Linked DNA regions of Homo sapiens: all the other regions are linked to region 1. Evidence: promoter capture Hi-C in 16 types of primary human blood cells and fetal thymus (Javierre and others, 2016). All regions are on one chromosome and are shown on one strand. Each heading gives the region's core, a stretch centred on a gene start or on the middle of the fragment in contact. The rest is flanking DNA. Distances are from core to core; before and after follow the strand shown.

Region 1 (3,621 bases), core at 825-3,324:
ATGGGGGGGAGTACCTCTGAGGTTTTCAGCCAATTTCCCCAATTTTCCGTAAGTCTCCTCAACAATGTAAGTGGATTTCAGCATTGGTTACAATATCAATGTGAATAGGAGCATTCACTCTATTCCATGACTATCTATTCTTATTTCAGAGAGCTCTGATTATTGGAAAGATTTTTTTCCCTGAAACATTTTTTCACTTCCTCACACTGTATCTAGTTCTGCCCGCAGAAGTTACAAAGAACTACTGTATGTACAAATAATATAGTTTGGTAGCTGGAATACTGGCTACTCTAGAGATATGATACTGTACTCACTGCCTCTAACTCTTTGTACAATCTATAACTAAGACAGTTGACCAGCAAAATGGAGAAAAAGCTCATATCTCACATAACAGAGATTGAGACAATTAATAAACATCATCTGTAATTTATAAAAAAAATTCTAAGCTAGCTAGTTCTCAATCCACTAAATATAAGATTGCTGGGTAGGAGAAGAAATGACTATCAGGTGGGTCATAGAAAGGTTAGTGAAGAAAAGTGAGAGGATGTGTAAGAAATAACCAAGTGAATATTACAGGGAGATAAAACAAGTTGCATAAGCACATACAAATTTAAAAGTAGGAGTTGCTCAGAGAATTCAAAAGTATGGCTAGTGCACAAGGTGGGTATGAAGAAGACATGGAAAATTAGTTAGGAAAGGCAATAATGCTAAATATTAACATTTATTGAGTAAGCTACATTCTGGCCACTATTGAGTACTTTACGTGTAAGAACCCTCAAAACAACTTTATGAGGTAGATACTACTATTACTTCATTTTAAAGATGGGGAAAAGGAGGTATGGGAGTGTTAGGTTAACTTGCCTGAGATTATGTAACTAATAAATGGCAGAGATGGGCTCTGAACCCAGGTAGTGTGGGTGCCTTAATTTATGAAGTGGTCTTCATATGAATGGCCTTTTTATTCTGAAGGTTCTAGGACTTTTTAGATAGTAAGTTGGAAACATTGGTAGATCCTTTCCTACCTCTTCACCTTTGGCACAGCTATCTCAAAGGAGTATCGGTGATAAGATAGGTGATCAGTTTAGGGATCCACAGTGGAGGCCAGAGGACTGTTCCAAACACTGATCCCCCATATATAAACTGAGAACTGGGAAGACAGACCTGCTTTACGGCTGGTGGCCAAGCTCAGATATTTCAAATTGGACAGAGACCCTTTACTATCCTATTCAAGAAGAAAAGGAATTGGAGCTGTGAAAGGGAGAATAAGTATTGGTGGCAATCGGTACTTAATGCCAGTATTTTTTTTTTTTTTTTTGGCTATTGTTTTGTATTTCCTATGAAACTTTTCTGCAGATCCACATAGAAAAAAAATAGACATTTTTACAATAAAACTCCCACTAATTAAGCACAGCCAAGCACTGTTTTAAGTGTTTTATACATATTAGCTCATTTAATCCTCACAGCAACCCTAGGCAATAGGCTCATTATTTGTCTTTTGCAAAGGAGGGGCACTGAAGCACAAAGACATCTACAACTCGTCCACAATTGTACAGCAAATGAATGGGAGAACTAAGTGAAGCTGGAAAGAACTACTATAAATTGTAGACAAGTACAAAACAATTGGTTAAAGATTAATACTTCTGAGACACTGTGTAGCAGAAAGAAACCCGGATTTGGATTAGGACTTGAATTCAGCCTCCAACATTTACTGCTGTGTAAAGATTTGAGGCTGATCACTCCTATAAAATTTGGATTATAATACTTACCTCATAGGGTTTTTGTAAAGATCTAGTGACGTGATTATTGTAAAAGTGCACCGTTAATCTCTCAGATGTCACAGAAACGTTAGAAGCATCTCTTCCCAGGATTGTACATGGAAATGAAGGATCCACAGATTTTGTGGCTATAAAACACCCGGACTACCGATCCCAGTGTGCAAAGCCTCCAGGCTTACCTTCCCGGAAACTGGCGCGGTGCCCTCTGGGACTTGTTCTGGGACTTGTAGTCTTGTACTGGCGCTGGCCCGCCTTTCTTCCTTAGTGGGGAAAACCGGGTGTAAGCCCCGGAAGTACTTGTTGCCTGAGCAGTGGGCTGCTTAGGAAGAGAAGGTCAGAGTTCGCGGGGGCAGAGGCATTCTTGCCGCTGGCCCAGTCACTATGTAGTGGAGGGGCAGACACCCTCCCGCAAATTCTGGAAGGTTCTTAGTCTCGACTAGGGCAGTAGCCCCAGGACTCCTAGTCGCCGGCTTCAGGTCACTGCCGGCTGAACGGAGCTGCCGTCGCCATGTTTGGCTGCTTGGTGGCGGGGAGGCTGGTGAGGATGGGACCGGGTGATATCAGGAAGGGGTCAGGATACCGAGGGCGAAGCCCTACGGCAGGGAGGGTGCGCAGGCGCTAGGGATGCGGGGAAGCCCACTTATTATATTTTGGGTGGGTATGTGAGGATGGAGCGTGGGAAGCTGGGTGCTCTCCTTTGCCCAGCTCTATTCAGATTCTTTCGAATAGTAGTCACAGTATAAGTTGGCATTTATTAAGTGTGCATTTTGTACCAAGTACTGGGCTAAGTGCAATGCACGCCTTTGGTCACTCAGCCTTATGTGTGGCGCTTATTTGGCACTTTGAACTTAATCCTCATAACTCGTGAGATGGTCTTTATCTTTGACATTTTGCAGTTACAGAACTAAGTTCAATCGCCAGTATAAATACCTTCTTTATTAACTTGAGGTAGAGGTGAATTTGGGATTGAATTTGGTCTATAGCAAACTGTTTTTCAAAGATTAAGGTGCTCAGGGAATGTATATCTTTTGGGTCCCTTTGGAAGAACCCGAGTAAAAATAAGCTTAATTTAATTGGAAGTTGGCTGAAACTTAACGTGTGAGCCGTATCTGAGATAACCAGAGAAGGATGCGAGTAGTGTGTTTCCTTATGGGTCAAAATAGATAACTTACCTTGCCAAATTGTTAGAGTAAATGAGAACAGCACCTGGAATTCTTTAGGAATAATCTGGAAGGTGAATCTTGTTTGTTTCCTTAGAAACCACACAGACATCAATTTTCAGGCCTGATTCCTTTCCCCTAGAAGTATTTTTCCTTCTTTTTTCTCCTGGCTTTTTAAAATGTTGCAGTCCCTTTGCTGAATTGTCTTTTTTTCCCATCAAGTTTTGATAATGTATTGTATTCTGTACATATACAGTTCTAAGAAGCCAGAAAGATAAGTTGGAGATGACTAGCCTCATAAAGTTTGTCTCTTGAATGACTGGGAGACCCCTGTGGTGATGGTGGTAATTCATAATCCTGGTGAGATAATTTTGCCCTGCTCTTAATAGGGAAAAAGGACAAACCTGGAATGATTGTGTGACTCAGACGAGTGAGTGTTATTAATGAATGACATTAAAATTGTGTTTCTTAAAGAATAAAAAGCCTATTTGGAATCCATGTATCTCTCACGTTGTCAACTAATTTGGAAGGAAATTTAGTTATGGTAATACCTGCCTCTATATATTGGGGATACTTGGTCCTTTAATTATGGAGTATTAGGACACATCAAAGTGAAGGACAAATAGACCTAGTGGCATCTCAAAACTTAACTACACGACTCTGTTATAAGAAAAATCTACTTATCT
Region 2 (3,621 bases), core at 1,122-3,621, 3.4 Mb before region 1:
ACTAAAAATCAATGGTTCAGAAATTGGCAACTAGTATAATTATAATTATGCAATAAATACATATGTAAAAGTTTTCCTCAGAAAATGAAATAAAACTCAATTGGAATAGACAGAAGAAAAATTATTATTATGGTAATAAATACATACGTGGAATCTGTATCCTAAAATATAAATTAAATATAAGCCAGTGGACAAAATGTGGCTGAGTAAAGCTGGACTTTGCATATCATCAAAAATGGAAAAAGAAACAGTGTTGAATTATATTTCTAAGGAGTGTAGTGGCCAAGAAAAGAATCTACAATAAAGGAACATAAATTAGGAACTAAGGTACTAACAACTCATTTGTTCCCTTCCTCTTTTCTGCTGATAGTTCTCTTTTTCATCAATCCCAATGGGATTTTAGAGATCTCCCAATCCAATAGTCCTCCCCACCGTTTTACTTTAGCAGTTGAGTTCTGCAAATAGTTGTATATAAAATCCCAGCATATAAAACAGGTAAAAGCTGAAAGAGATCCAAGAGAGGGTACTAGAGCACCTAATTTGGCCTCCACTTCAGCCTTCATCCACTTTCCCTCTGAAACAGCTCCCCAAAGAGCCCTTAATTTTCCTCAGTAAAGTGTAAAACACATTGGTCCTTGTCCCAACCCTCCTAATTTACAAATGAGGGAATTATGCCCTAGAGAATTAATTTAAGGGAGTTGCCTGAGAAAAAAGATTATTTCCTAGTACCCCTGCTAAAATTAAAATGTTTTCTCTTCCTCATAAACTTGAACTCAAATGTCTGGGTTAAAAATTGTTTCTTGGCTGGGGACACAGTGGCACACGCCTGCAATCCCAGCCCTTTGGGAGGCCAAGACAGGGGCATCGCTTGAGCCCAGGAGTTCAAGACCAGCCTAGGCAAGATGACAAAATCCCATCTCTATTTTTAAAAATAAAAAAATTTTTAAATTATTTCTAAGTTATTCTGGAAGTCTATGACATCCCTCTACCACAAATTCCCATTCCAAATTCACATAAGGGCTGGGCTCAGTGGCTCACACCTGTAATCCCAACACTTTGGGAGGCTGATGCAGAAGGATTATTGAGCCCACAAGTTCAAGACTAGCCTGGGCAACATAGTGAGCCTTGTCTCTGCACAATTAACAACAACAAAATTTCACATAGGTCTATAACCACATATTATATGAGTGCCTACTTGAAGCCAGATACTCTGCTAAGAGTACGTTATCTGCTCTCATTCAACCATCACCACAAACCCCAAGAGATCAAGGAACTAGGCTCACAGAAGTACTGTAACCTGCCCAAGGTCACAGAGCTAGCAGGGTGGAATCCGGTTCTATCTGACTCCTAAAGCCAAGCTTCAGACCCTTGCACTCTTTCTAATCCCAACCTTTTCCAAATCTTTTCCTATTTTTACACAGGCTTTCAGAAATGCTGAACTGTAAGGATTACTTGTCATTTCACAGAGGATGTACTTTTCCATCAAGACCTGTGGGGGAATGCCTCATGCTGCAGCCAAGCACAAAGGCATCAAGCCCAAAAACCTCTAATTTCACGTTACAGACCATAGAAAGGCTAATCCCCACCCCCACCACAAACTCCTACAACTCCTTTTACAAGCATAGGCTACATACATTCAGTCTTATGGGGAATAGGGACTGTCAACAATTCTTAATAATAGGGCTACAAAATCAGCTCTGAGCTGACCCCTTCTGAGAGGCTGGCTTTTAGGATGGATAACTATCCAATATTTTCTAATAGGTAAAGATATTAAAATTTGTATTTAGGGCTGCCTTGGGGCAAAGGATGACTATCACCGCAGACTAGGTACCAGAGCTGGCATTTAATAATTTGAATTTGAGGGAAGGTCAAGGGAGTTCGGATTGGGGCACCCTCTGGGAGCAGAGGGAGTTGAAGTGACTGTCGTGTCCAATTACAGAAAAGCCTGAATCAAGAGTATGCAGCCAAAACTACTACCAAATTATTGGTAATGGGAGGAGAAAATTTAAACAGAACTGGGATTTGGGACCACCTTCTGGAAGATGTTAGCCAAAAACCGAACAGATCCTAGGCATCAAGGGGTGTGAATTTCGAGGTAGGCTCCGTTGCCCGGGCTCTGAGGGTCAGGGTTCCCGGCGGTTGGGCCTGGGACGGCGAAGCCCCCGCTCCCCCTTACCTTCTGTTGGAAGTAGAGAACCGAATAGTTCTTGGCTACAGCCGGGAGGGATGTGGGGTTGGTTGGCAAGTGTAGGCTGCCGAGGGCCCTTAAGGCCGGCCGGAGGGCTATGGTGGCCCAGGGCGCCAGAAAAGACAGAAGCAGGAGCAGGAGGGCTCGGCGGCCCATGGCTCAGGCTGGAGACTGCAGTGCGGGTGGGAGGGCGAAAAGGAGGCCAGCAGAAGCGCACAGGCTAAGCCCTGCCCAGCCTGCAGCTCCGCCCGCCGCAAAACAGCTCCTCCCAGGGGAAACCCAAAGCCAGCCAGCTCCTCAGAGACGCCGCCCAAGCCAGGTCACCACAGCCACTCCGCCCCCATCCCCGAGGACACCGCCTCCACTCCACTTTCCTCTCGTGCCATCTGCTCCTTAGCACTCACCTTCATTGCGGTCACACCCCAAGTCTGCCCTTATCATGCTAGGGCCTCTTCCTAACTCATCGCTGTAGCCCATGCTTTATCTATAGCGCCCCCGAAGCCCACCTGTCCTTCAGGTCACCCAATATCCCTACCATTATCATCACCACCAAACCCTGCCCTGGCCACCGCAATTCCATTGCGACACCTCCTGCCTTCCGCAAATCCTACGTAACGGCAATAACAGCTACCATGACAATTTATTGAAGGTTCACTACAGGCCAGTGTATCACGAGGCAGGGAGGCACACGCATCATCTCCTCTAACTAAATCGTCACAGCAATCTTGTGCGTCGTATATGATTGTTATTCCCATCTACAGATGTGGAAACTGAGGCTCAGAGAGGTGCGGGAACTTGCACTAGATCACTCAGCAGTGAGCGGAGCACGTCGTCGCAGACCGCTGGGTCCAGGTCCAAAGACTGTGCTCCTTGCACCCACCTCCATCTGGAGCCTAACCACTCCCTATGATACTCCGTTCTTGGGTCACCCCAAAACTGTGTTGCTCGCACAACCCATCCATTACACAGGTCGCCCCGGGTCCACATCGCCCCTAAATCCCGCCAGGTCCCGGTCCCTTCTTTCAAATAACGCCCCCTTTCTTCTCCGGCACCCGAAAACCCACTCCGCGCTCCACCCCCCTCCTGCCTCCTGCCACCGCCCCCTTCCTCCCTCCGCCCGTGGGTAGTGCTAGCCCCTAGGACAGCGCCGGGTCTGGCTTCCAAAGCTCCCTCAACCCTCTTCATCCAGCTTCCATTCCCTCTTTCAGTCACCCCGCCAGACCCCAGGGCGCTGCGGCTCACTCCACACTTTCCCGGGAACCCTACGCCCAGGAGGCTCAGCGAAGCTCCAAAACCAATTTTACGGACTGTACTACTGATCCACCTGTCGGGGAGAAAGACTCTACCCGCAGTTTGACGAAAATGGTCGTTTCCAGATGCTTGTAGGATTTCCTCGCTAAGCTCCACCCTCTGCGGCGCCTTCTTCTGATTGG
Region 3 (3,621 bases), core at 1,017-3,516, 3.0 Mb before region 1:
GCTGGAATGCAGTGGCGCAATCTTGTCTCACTGCAGCCTCCACTTCCTGGGTTCGAGTGATTCTCGTGCCTCAGCCTCCTGAGTAGCTGGGACCACATGCACCCACCATCATGCCTGGCTAATTTTTTTGTATTTTTAGTAGAGACAGGGTTTTGCCACGTTGGCCAGGCTGGTCTCGAACTTCTGACCTCAAGTGATCTGCTCACCTCAGCCTCCTGAAGTGCTGGGATTACAGGCGTGAGCCACCACACCAGCCTTAATGTGGCTCTTAAGAGCCTCTTTTTACCTCATTCTTCCTTTAAATACAGACTCAAAAAGCCTACAAAACTGCACAGGTGTCCATCTGTAACAACTTTAAATGTACACATAATCCATTGTTAAGTAGCTAAATCTATTAAAAGTGTGATTTTTTTAAACTACTATGGAGCCATCAGAGAATATTCAGATTTTAATCAAAATCACAATATAATCAAATTTTCAGAATAAGACTTTATTATTTTATTTTTTCCCCCTCATCCTGCTAGCTGACTTGTTTTCATATGGCCCTTTCTGAAGTGATCAAGTATGCAGCTTAATGGCCTATGACCCTGAGCCTTAGCTTCACCCTTCATGACATCTCTGTGCCTTATTCTATACTAGAGGTGGGGTCAGCAATTGAATTAGGTTCAAGAACAGAACAGGATTATTTAACTTCAGACAGCAGTAATAAAAAAGCCAAAAGTTTAATAGTGATATTTCTATACTCAATCCTACCTCTTGTATATAGGATTAAATGGTCCTGGCAGCACAAATATTCCTCAAATCACAGCTTTATTTCACTCCCTATATTATAGGTAAACTTAAAAATTTAAGACAAAATTACTTTATTAAAAGTATCAGTAGCTCCATATAGCTCTTTCAGGACAGCTCGGAGCTTAGGAGTAACTAATTAGATGTTTGGCTTTTTCTTTAGTGGATTTAGTAGTCTGTTATGATCCTAAAAATGCATGTACAAACTTAAAGGTAAGTTAAATGTAGGGATTGAATGTTTCAATTTTAAATGTCTAATTAATTGGACATTTGTCTACTATAATTGGAGATTACAGTTTTAATTTTTGTTTTTTTCTTTTTTTGAGATGGAGTCTCTGTCACCCAGGCTGGAGCGCAGTGGTGCAATGTTGGCTCATTGCAACCTCCACCTCCCCAGTTCAAGCGATTCTCCTGCCTCAGCCTCCCGAGGAGCTGGGATTACAGGTGCCCACCACCATGCCCGGCTAATTTTTGTTTTTTTTTTTGTTTTTTCAAGTAGAGACAGTGTTTCACCTTATTGGCCAGGCTAGTCTTGAACTCCTGACCTCAAGTGATCTGTGTACCTCAGCCTCCCAAAGTAATGGGATTACAGGTGTGACCCACGGCACCTGGCCATAGTAGAAATCTGTAAGATCTTTTGATCTACCATGACCCTTTAATGAAATTTTATGCAAAATATTCTAATTTTATATAAGAAATCCTGATTTTTCTCTGTGCTGTAAAATACTTATCTGAGGAAGGAAGCCTAAATTTGAAAAATTAAAATGAAAAAAATATAACCATAGGAAGAAAACAGATTCCTAAACATAATACATTATTTCATGACTGACAGAAATGAATTATTATTCCAGTTAAGTTCATTTAGTTTATTCAGTCCTTTATATAAAATTATTGCTTTTTGTCCATACCACCACAGTGAAAACTCTTGCAAACTACTCAATTTCTCTGAGCCTGTCTTCAGTGGCCAAATAGAATTCTGCTTACTTTTCAAGGTTATTAGAGATTAAATAATATACGAAAAGTACATAGCATTGTGCCACTTACATGTTAAATTCTTATGTTTGACTTTAAGGATTTTTATATTCAGTTAAATTAAGGCGTCTTAGCCAGGGAATTTATAAAGTCCCTCCCAGCCAACTAAGTCCTTTCCAGCTATGTCTGTGAAAATTAACCAATGTGTATGTATAGCAGCAATAAAATATACTGAATATATAGAAAGATTAGCTCTTCTGTGGTGAGCTTTCTAGAGGGAAAAAGTTGTTTCACAAACAATCTACCACCACTCATGAATAACACAATATAATGATCTCATCCCATCAAAGATTTGGCAAAATACCATTCTCTGTTACCACAATATTATTACAACTATTCTAACTATTCAGTCTCTCTAAATACTGACTTTATTCAATGTTTTTTTTTGTGGTCCCTTTAGAGAGAACAAGGAAGATATAAGCATGTTTGGAAGGTCAGTAGGTAGACAGAGACATAGTTATGAAATGATTGTCTAATGAAAGTATCAGAAGTGATAGTAATCAGTGTATTACCTGTTGAGCTTGAGTGACCATCTCTTTATAGATAGTATCCAGGCTGACATTTGATAAAGCAGTTAACGCTGATACAATTGTTTCTGCTTGTGTTTTGTCAAATCCTGTAGGCAGCAAATAGGTATTTTATTTTTTTTAAAGTGTATATCCTTATCAAAATAGACAGCAAGAGTAACTCCTCAACATTTAAATTGTTATACTCTTTTAAATAATGGTTACAATTAAAAAATTGACAGATAATACTAAATTACTCTCTAAAAGAACTCTACAACTTTAGGCCGGGCATGGTGGCTCACGCCTGTAATCCCAGCACTTTGGGAGGCCGAGGTGGGCAGATCACAAGGTCAGGAGATTGAGACCATGCTGGCTAACACGGTGAAACCCCATCTGTACTAAATATACAAAAATAGCCAGGCGTGGTGGCGGGCGCCCGTAGTCCCAGCTACTCGGGAGGCTGAGGCAGGAGAATGGTGTGAACCTGGGAGGCAGAGCTTGCAGTAAGCCGAGATCGCGCCACTTTACTCCAGCCTGGGCAACAGAGCGAGACTCTGTCTCAAAAAAAACAAAAAAAAAACAAACAAAAAAACAAACTCTAAAATTTTAATTCTCATTCTGTATCTCCCCACATCTACATTAACACTGGATATGACTTTTTTTTTGAGTGTGTAATTGGCATAAAAAATTGTATTGCATTGTTATTTTAATGTTACTTAAATTTGCATTTCCTTGGTTTGTAGAGAGGTTAAGCATTACATATACTTTTTGTTATTTATATTTATTTTTCTGTGTTCTGCTTGTTTATAGCATTTGCCCACCTTTTTCTGTAAAACTGCTTGTTCTTCTTTTACATTTAGCTTTTCATCTATCTGAAATTTAGTTTTCAATAAGGGGATCTAATATATTTTTTCCCAGTGGCTAGTCACTTATTATGTCTCATTTATTAAATAGTCCTTCCTTTCCCTAATTTGTAATGCCTTCATCACATATTAAATTCATGTCTGTGTCTCTTAATACCATTTTGTTCTATTAGTCTATTCCTTTAATATCACATAATTTAAATTACTGTTTTGATATCAGGTAATTTTTTGTGCTTTTTTTTTATTTTTTAATCTCAAACATTTGTACTTCCACACGGACTTTAGTTTAACCTAGAAACTCTAGTTTTTTTTCACTTAATTGGAATAATTCTGCACATATTATTTCATATGCTTTTTTCAATTAACATATCTTGAACATTCCCCATATCAGTAAATATTTCTCAAACAGTATCATTTTTAGTGACTATAAA
Region 4 (3,621 bases), core at 823-3,322, 3.0 Mb before region 1:
ACTTCACGGAGAGAGAATGCAGCCTGGACCACTCACATGTGTCAGTCATTTTCTCTTGGAATAGGTGATGTGAAGGAATCTCGATGTGTTTTAAAGCCTGTGAATGAGGCATTGAGAAAGAGAGAGCTCTGGACCAAATGGGTTTCATTTTCTTCCTTAGCTTACTTGGAGCTCTTGCCACTAGGGGGAGGATGTGAAAAGAACCAAGGACAATTCTTTGCTTCTTTGCTCTCATCTCTGAAGCTGAGTCAGAGGGCCCATTGTCACAAAAGCTTTGTGTAGCTTTATGTTAATTTCACATTTTGCATGGCTGGAAAGTGACTATCAGCCCGTATTCCCTGAAAATCTGGGGAAATTTTTTTTTTCCTAATTATACAGGGAGGCTGGCAATGACACCCGATTCCGAGTTTGCCCATTAAAATAAATCAAAGAAAAGAATGATTAAAAGAATGGTAGAAAAGAAGAAGAAAGAGCTGTCAAAACATTATATACTTTGCAATGTTACATCATAACCTGGTGTCTCTCATCGATTACTCATTTTTTCTTTGAATGACTATTGAACACTATTTATGGTGCCAGGCACTGTGCTAAGCCATGAAGATATAAACATAAAACACAGTCCTGCTCTCAGATTGTCAACAGTCTATTGTAATAAATATTATGATGAAGGGTAGTATAGGCTGCCAAGGGAATGCATAAGAGAGGCTTATATTACCCTAAGCAGGGATCCGTCGGAAGGCATTAGTTTGAAAGGATGTGTGAAAGACAGTTTGGTTAAATGGATTTGGTGAATGGTGGTGTGGAGTACGTTGTGTGGAAAAGGCAACAGCACTTGCAAAAGCCGGGAAGTGTGTGTGAGAGAGCCTGGTTCATTTGGGAATGGAGAGAATGGCTGGAGCAATGGGTTAAGGGTAGGGAAATTCAGAAGGTGAGGTTGGAAAAGGTGAGGCTGGCCTTCAAGGTCTTTTTTACTTTATCCATGAGTAAGAGGAATCACTGAAGGGCATTAGGCTAGGGAGTAGCTTTGAAAAGAAAGGTGGCCAGGCATGGTGGTTCACCCTGTCATCTCAGCAGTTTGGGAGGCCAAGGTGAGAGGATCAGTGGAGCCCAGGAATTTGAGACCAGCCTGGGCAACATAGCGAGCTCCTGTCTCTATAAAAATTAAAAAAAATTAGCCGGGCAATGGGACACATGCCTGTAGTCCCAGTTACACAGGGGGCTGAGGTGGGAAGATCTCTTGAGCCCAGGAGGTCAAGGCTACAGTGAGCCCTGATTGCACCACTGCACTCCAGCCTGGGCAACAGAGACCCTGTCTCAAAAACGAAAACGAAAAAATGAAAAGAAAAGGAAAAAAACCAAAAGGGTGTTTGCCTGCCCTTTGCTGAGTCCTTCAGCGGTCAAGGCTGTGTATTTCACCTAGATTCCCTGTCCTAGGTACTGATCTGGAAAACCCTAGACATCTGCCCCTTTCCTGGTCAGAGAAGACCCCTGGCCTGGCAGAGCCTACAGCTCCAGCCTCAAGGTACCTGATTGGAGAAGTCCTCCTCATTGTATGACTTGGCTGCCTTGGACCTCACTGGGAAAGACTAGGGAAATAGGATTTTGGGGTCTTGACTTTGGAATTCATTTTCCGCACTGGGGTATAGCAGAGCTGAAAAATCTCACTAAACTCTCAGCATGGTCTGTATCCTTCCTGTCTCCAACAACAAGGTGGGGCATTCTTCCTCAAAAATTCTTCACATGTAGGTGTTGCCTCATCTCTTATCTCACACACATGAGCTCATTTGAGCTCTTTGGCAACTCCGTGAGCTGGGTACCATTGCTCCTGTTTCATAGATGGGAAAACAGGTTCAGAAGGCTGAAGTGACTTGTCCCAGGTCACAGAGCAAGTACGTGGTAGAACTCATAATCGATTGTGCTGCACACTGCATAGATAAGTCACCCCTGTTCCTTCCACCAATTTATTTTAACTGGGTACATGGCACAAATTGTGAAATTATGTGTACTCTTAGGGACACATCATCCCTCATCCTCCAAGAAACTGTTAGTACAGAAGTGACAAATGGGTTTCATCTTCATGCCAATACCCTTCAATTGACCGTGGCTGCTTAGAACAAAGTGATGAGTGTTGTGAGGCCATATCTTGGTGCAGCAGTAAAGAATACATGATTGATTGGTAGTATCTGATATGAATGCAGGAGAGAAAGGGGGCAGCACATATGCCATTTCTAGATTATATATTCCCCTTAGGCTGCCATAATCCTGCACTGGCCATGACATTTCCACTGACTCCCACCTTCATCCCAACACCCATTTTGCTCATTTTCTCTTATTCCTTCCCTTCCTTGCTGAAATTGTTCCCACCCATTTAACAATAGCTTCAACTTACTGAGGGTTTAGTGGGTACCAGGCACTTTGCGTATATTATTTCTAATTCTCCAACAATCATGTAAGGTAGGTAGAGACAAAAACAAGACTTAGAGGGGTTAAGTAGCTTGTTCAGGGACATACAACAAGCTGGAATTTCAACCCTGAAGCACATGGAAAACTTTGCATTTTTATAATGGGTAATGAAAACCTTCATATTCACTGTTTGCTTTGAGCCTCACAACAGCCTCGGGAGGTAGTTTTCTGGGTTTGCAACTGAGGGAGCTTGAGGCTCAGGGGAGAGGCGCTGATTATTTAGTGACATAGTCACAGCTCCTGACTCCTACCTCAGGCCTTTTCCTGCTACTACCTTAGGCTCTGGGGAAGAGCCCTTGACTCCACAAAGCTATCTCTTAAGAACTGATCTATACTACTGTGGGGAGAATTTGGGGGCCCTTCATTGATTTTACTCCTGCCAGCCTTACCCTGTTTTCAGCTCTTATCATCAAGAAGGTCTTTCTTTTATTGTTAGCTCTTTGTGTAATTTAGGTCATTTCTTTAAAAAAATTTGTTGAGAAATTCACGTCACATAAAATTAACCATTTAAACGTGAACAACTCAGTAGCATTTAGTACACTTACAATGTTGTGCAACTACCACCTCTATCTAGTTCCAAAATATTTCCATCACTCCAAAGTAAAATTCCTGACCTATTTAGCAGGTTTTTCCCCTTCCCCACTCCTCTCAGCCCCTGACTAACACCGATCTGTGTTCTGTCTCTATGGATTCATCTATTCTGGATGTATCACGTAAATTGAATCATACATGTGACCTTTTGTATATGGCTTTTTTCATTTAGCAAAATATCTTGGAAGTTCATTGTGTTGCAGCATGCATCAGTACTTCATTCCTTTTCATGGCCAGTATTCTATTGCACACAATCAGTACCATGATTTGTTTATCCATCCATTCGCTGATAGACATTTGGGGTCTTTTTACTTTATGGCTATTATGAATAATGCTGCTATGAGCATGTGCATACATGTACTTGTCTGAATATATTTTTTCAGTTCTTCTAGTATCTATGTAGGCGTGAAATTGCAGGGTCATGTGGTAATTTTACATTTAAAAGGCCCACTTCTGTTTGTTTGATCTTACTGGATGTAGATGTACATGTTGATCATGAAGAAAGCCAGCCTTTTCTGAGCTATATAATTTTGACATCTGGCTTTATTTGGGAAACTTTTAAACCAG

Evidence for each region. The method cuts DNA at HindIII sites, captures the fragments that hold promoters and counts their contacts. A CHiCAGO score of 5 or more calls a contact.
Region 2: a contact is called between the fragment with the promoter of PRCP here and the fragment with the promoter of HIKESHI in region 1, in 2 of 17 cell types (non-activated CD4 T cells and naive CD8 T cells). The highest score is 5.6, in non-activated CD4 T cells.
Region 3: a contact is called between a fragment that was not itself captured here and the fragment with the promoter of HIKESHI in region 1, in 1 of 17 cell types (non-activated CD4 T cells). The highest score is 8.1, in non-activated CD4 T cells.
Region 4: a contact is called between a fragment that was not itself captured here and the fragment with the promoter of HIKESHI in region 1, in 1 of 17 cell types (non-activated CD4 T cells). The highest score is 6.0, in non-activated CD4 T cells.

The regions. Positions count from the first base shown.
Region 1 is chr11:86,300,166-86,303,786 of GRCh38, forward strand. HIKESHI (heat shock protein nuclear import factor hikeshi) reads left to right here and starts at 2,075. Exons shown (of 5, transcript NM_016401.4): 1 at 2,075-2,313. The coding sequence starts at 2,284. The HindIII fragment of the contact is 4,753 bases long and covers 1-2,836 here.
Region 2 is chr11:82,898,059-82,901,679 of GRCh38, forward strand. PRCP (prolylcarboxypeptidase) reads right to left here and starts at 2,372. Exons shown (of 9, transcript NM_005040.4): 1 at 2,177-2,372. The coding sequence starts at 2,344. It overlaps LOC124902602, which reads right to left. Exons shown (of 2, transcript XM_047427953.1): 2 at 2,856-3,621. The coding sequence ends at 2,966. RefSeq lists enhancers at 2,098-2,147, 2,268-2,327, 2,478-2,577, 2,858-2,907 and silencers at 3,118-3,167, 3,218-3,307. The HindIII fragment of the contact is 4,585 bases long and covers 1,357-3,621 here.
Region 3 is chr11:83,276,393-83,280,013 of GRCh38, forward strand. It overlaps CCDC90B (coiled-coil domain containing 90B), which reads right to left. Exons shown (of 9, transcript NM_021825.5): 3 at 2,334-2,437. Among named protein-coding and RNA genes, the nearest start is that of CCDC90B-AS1, 7.9 kb to the right of the region's middle. The HindIII fragment of the contact is 6,725 bases long and covers 1-3,621 here.
Region 4 is chr11:83,292,961-83,296,581 of GRCh38, forward strand. All of the region lies in intron 1 of CCDC90B-AS1 (CCDC90B antisense RNA 1), which reads left to right. Among named protein-coding and RNA genes, the nearest start is that of CCDC90B, 8.4 kb to the left of the region's middle. The HindIII fragment of the contact is 3,605 bases long and covers 271-3,621 here.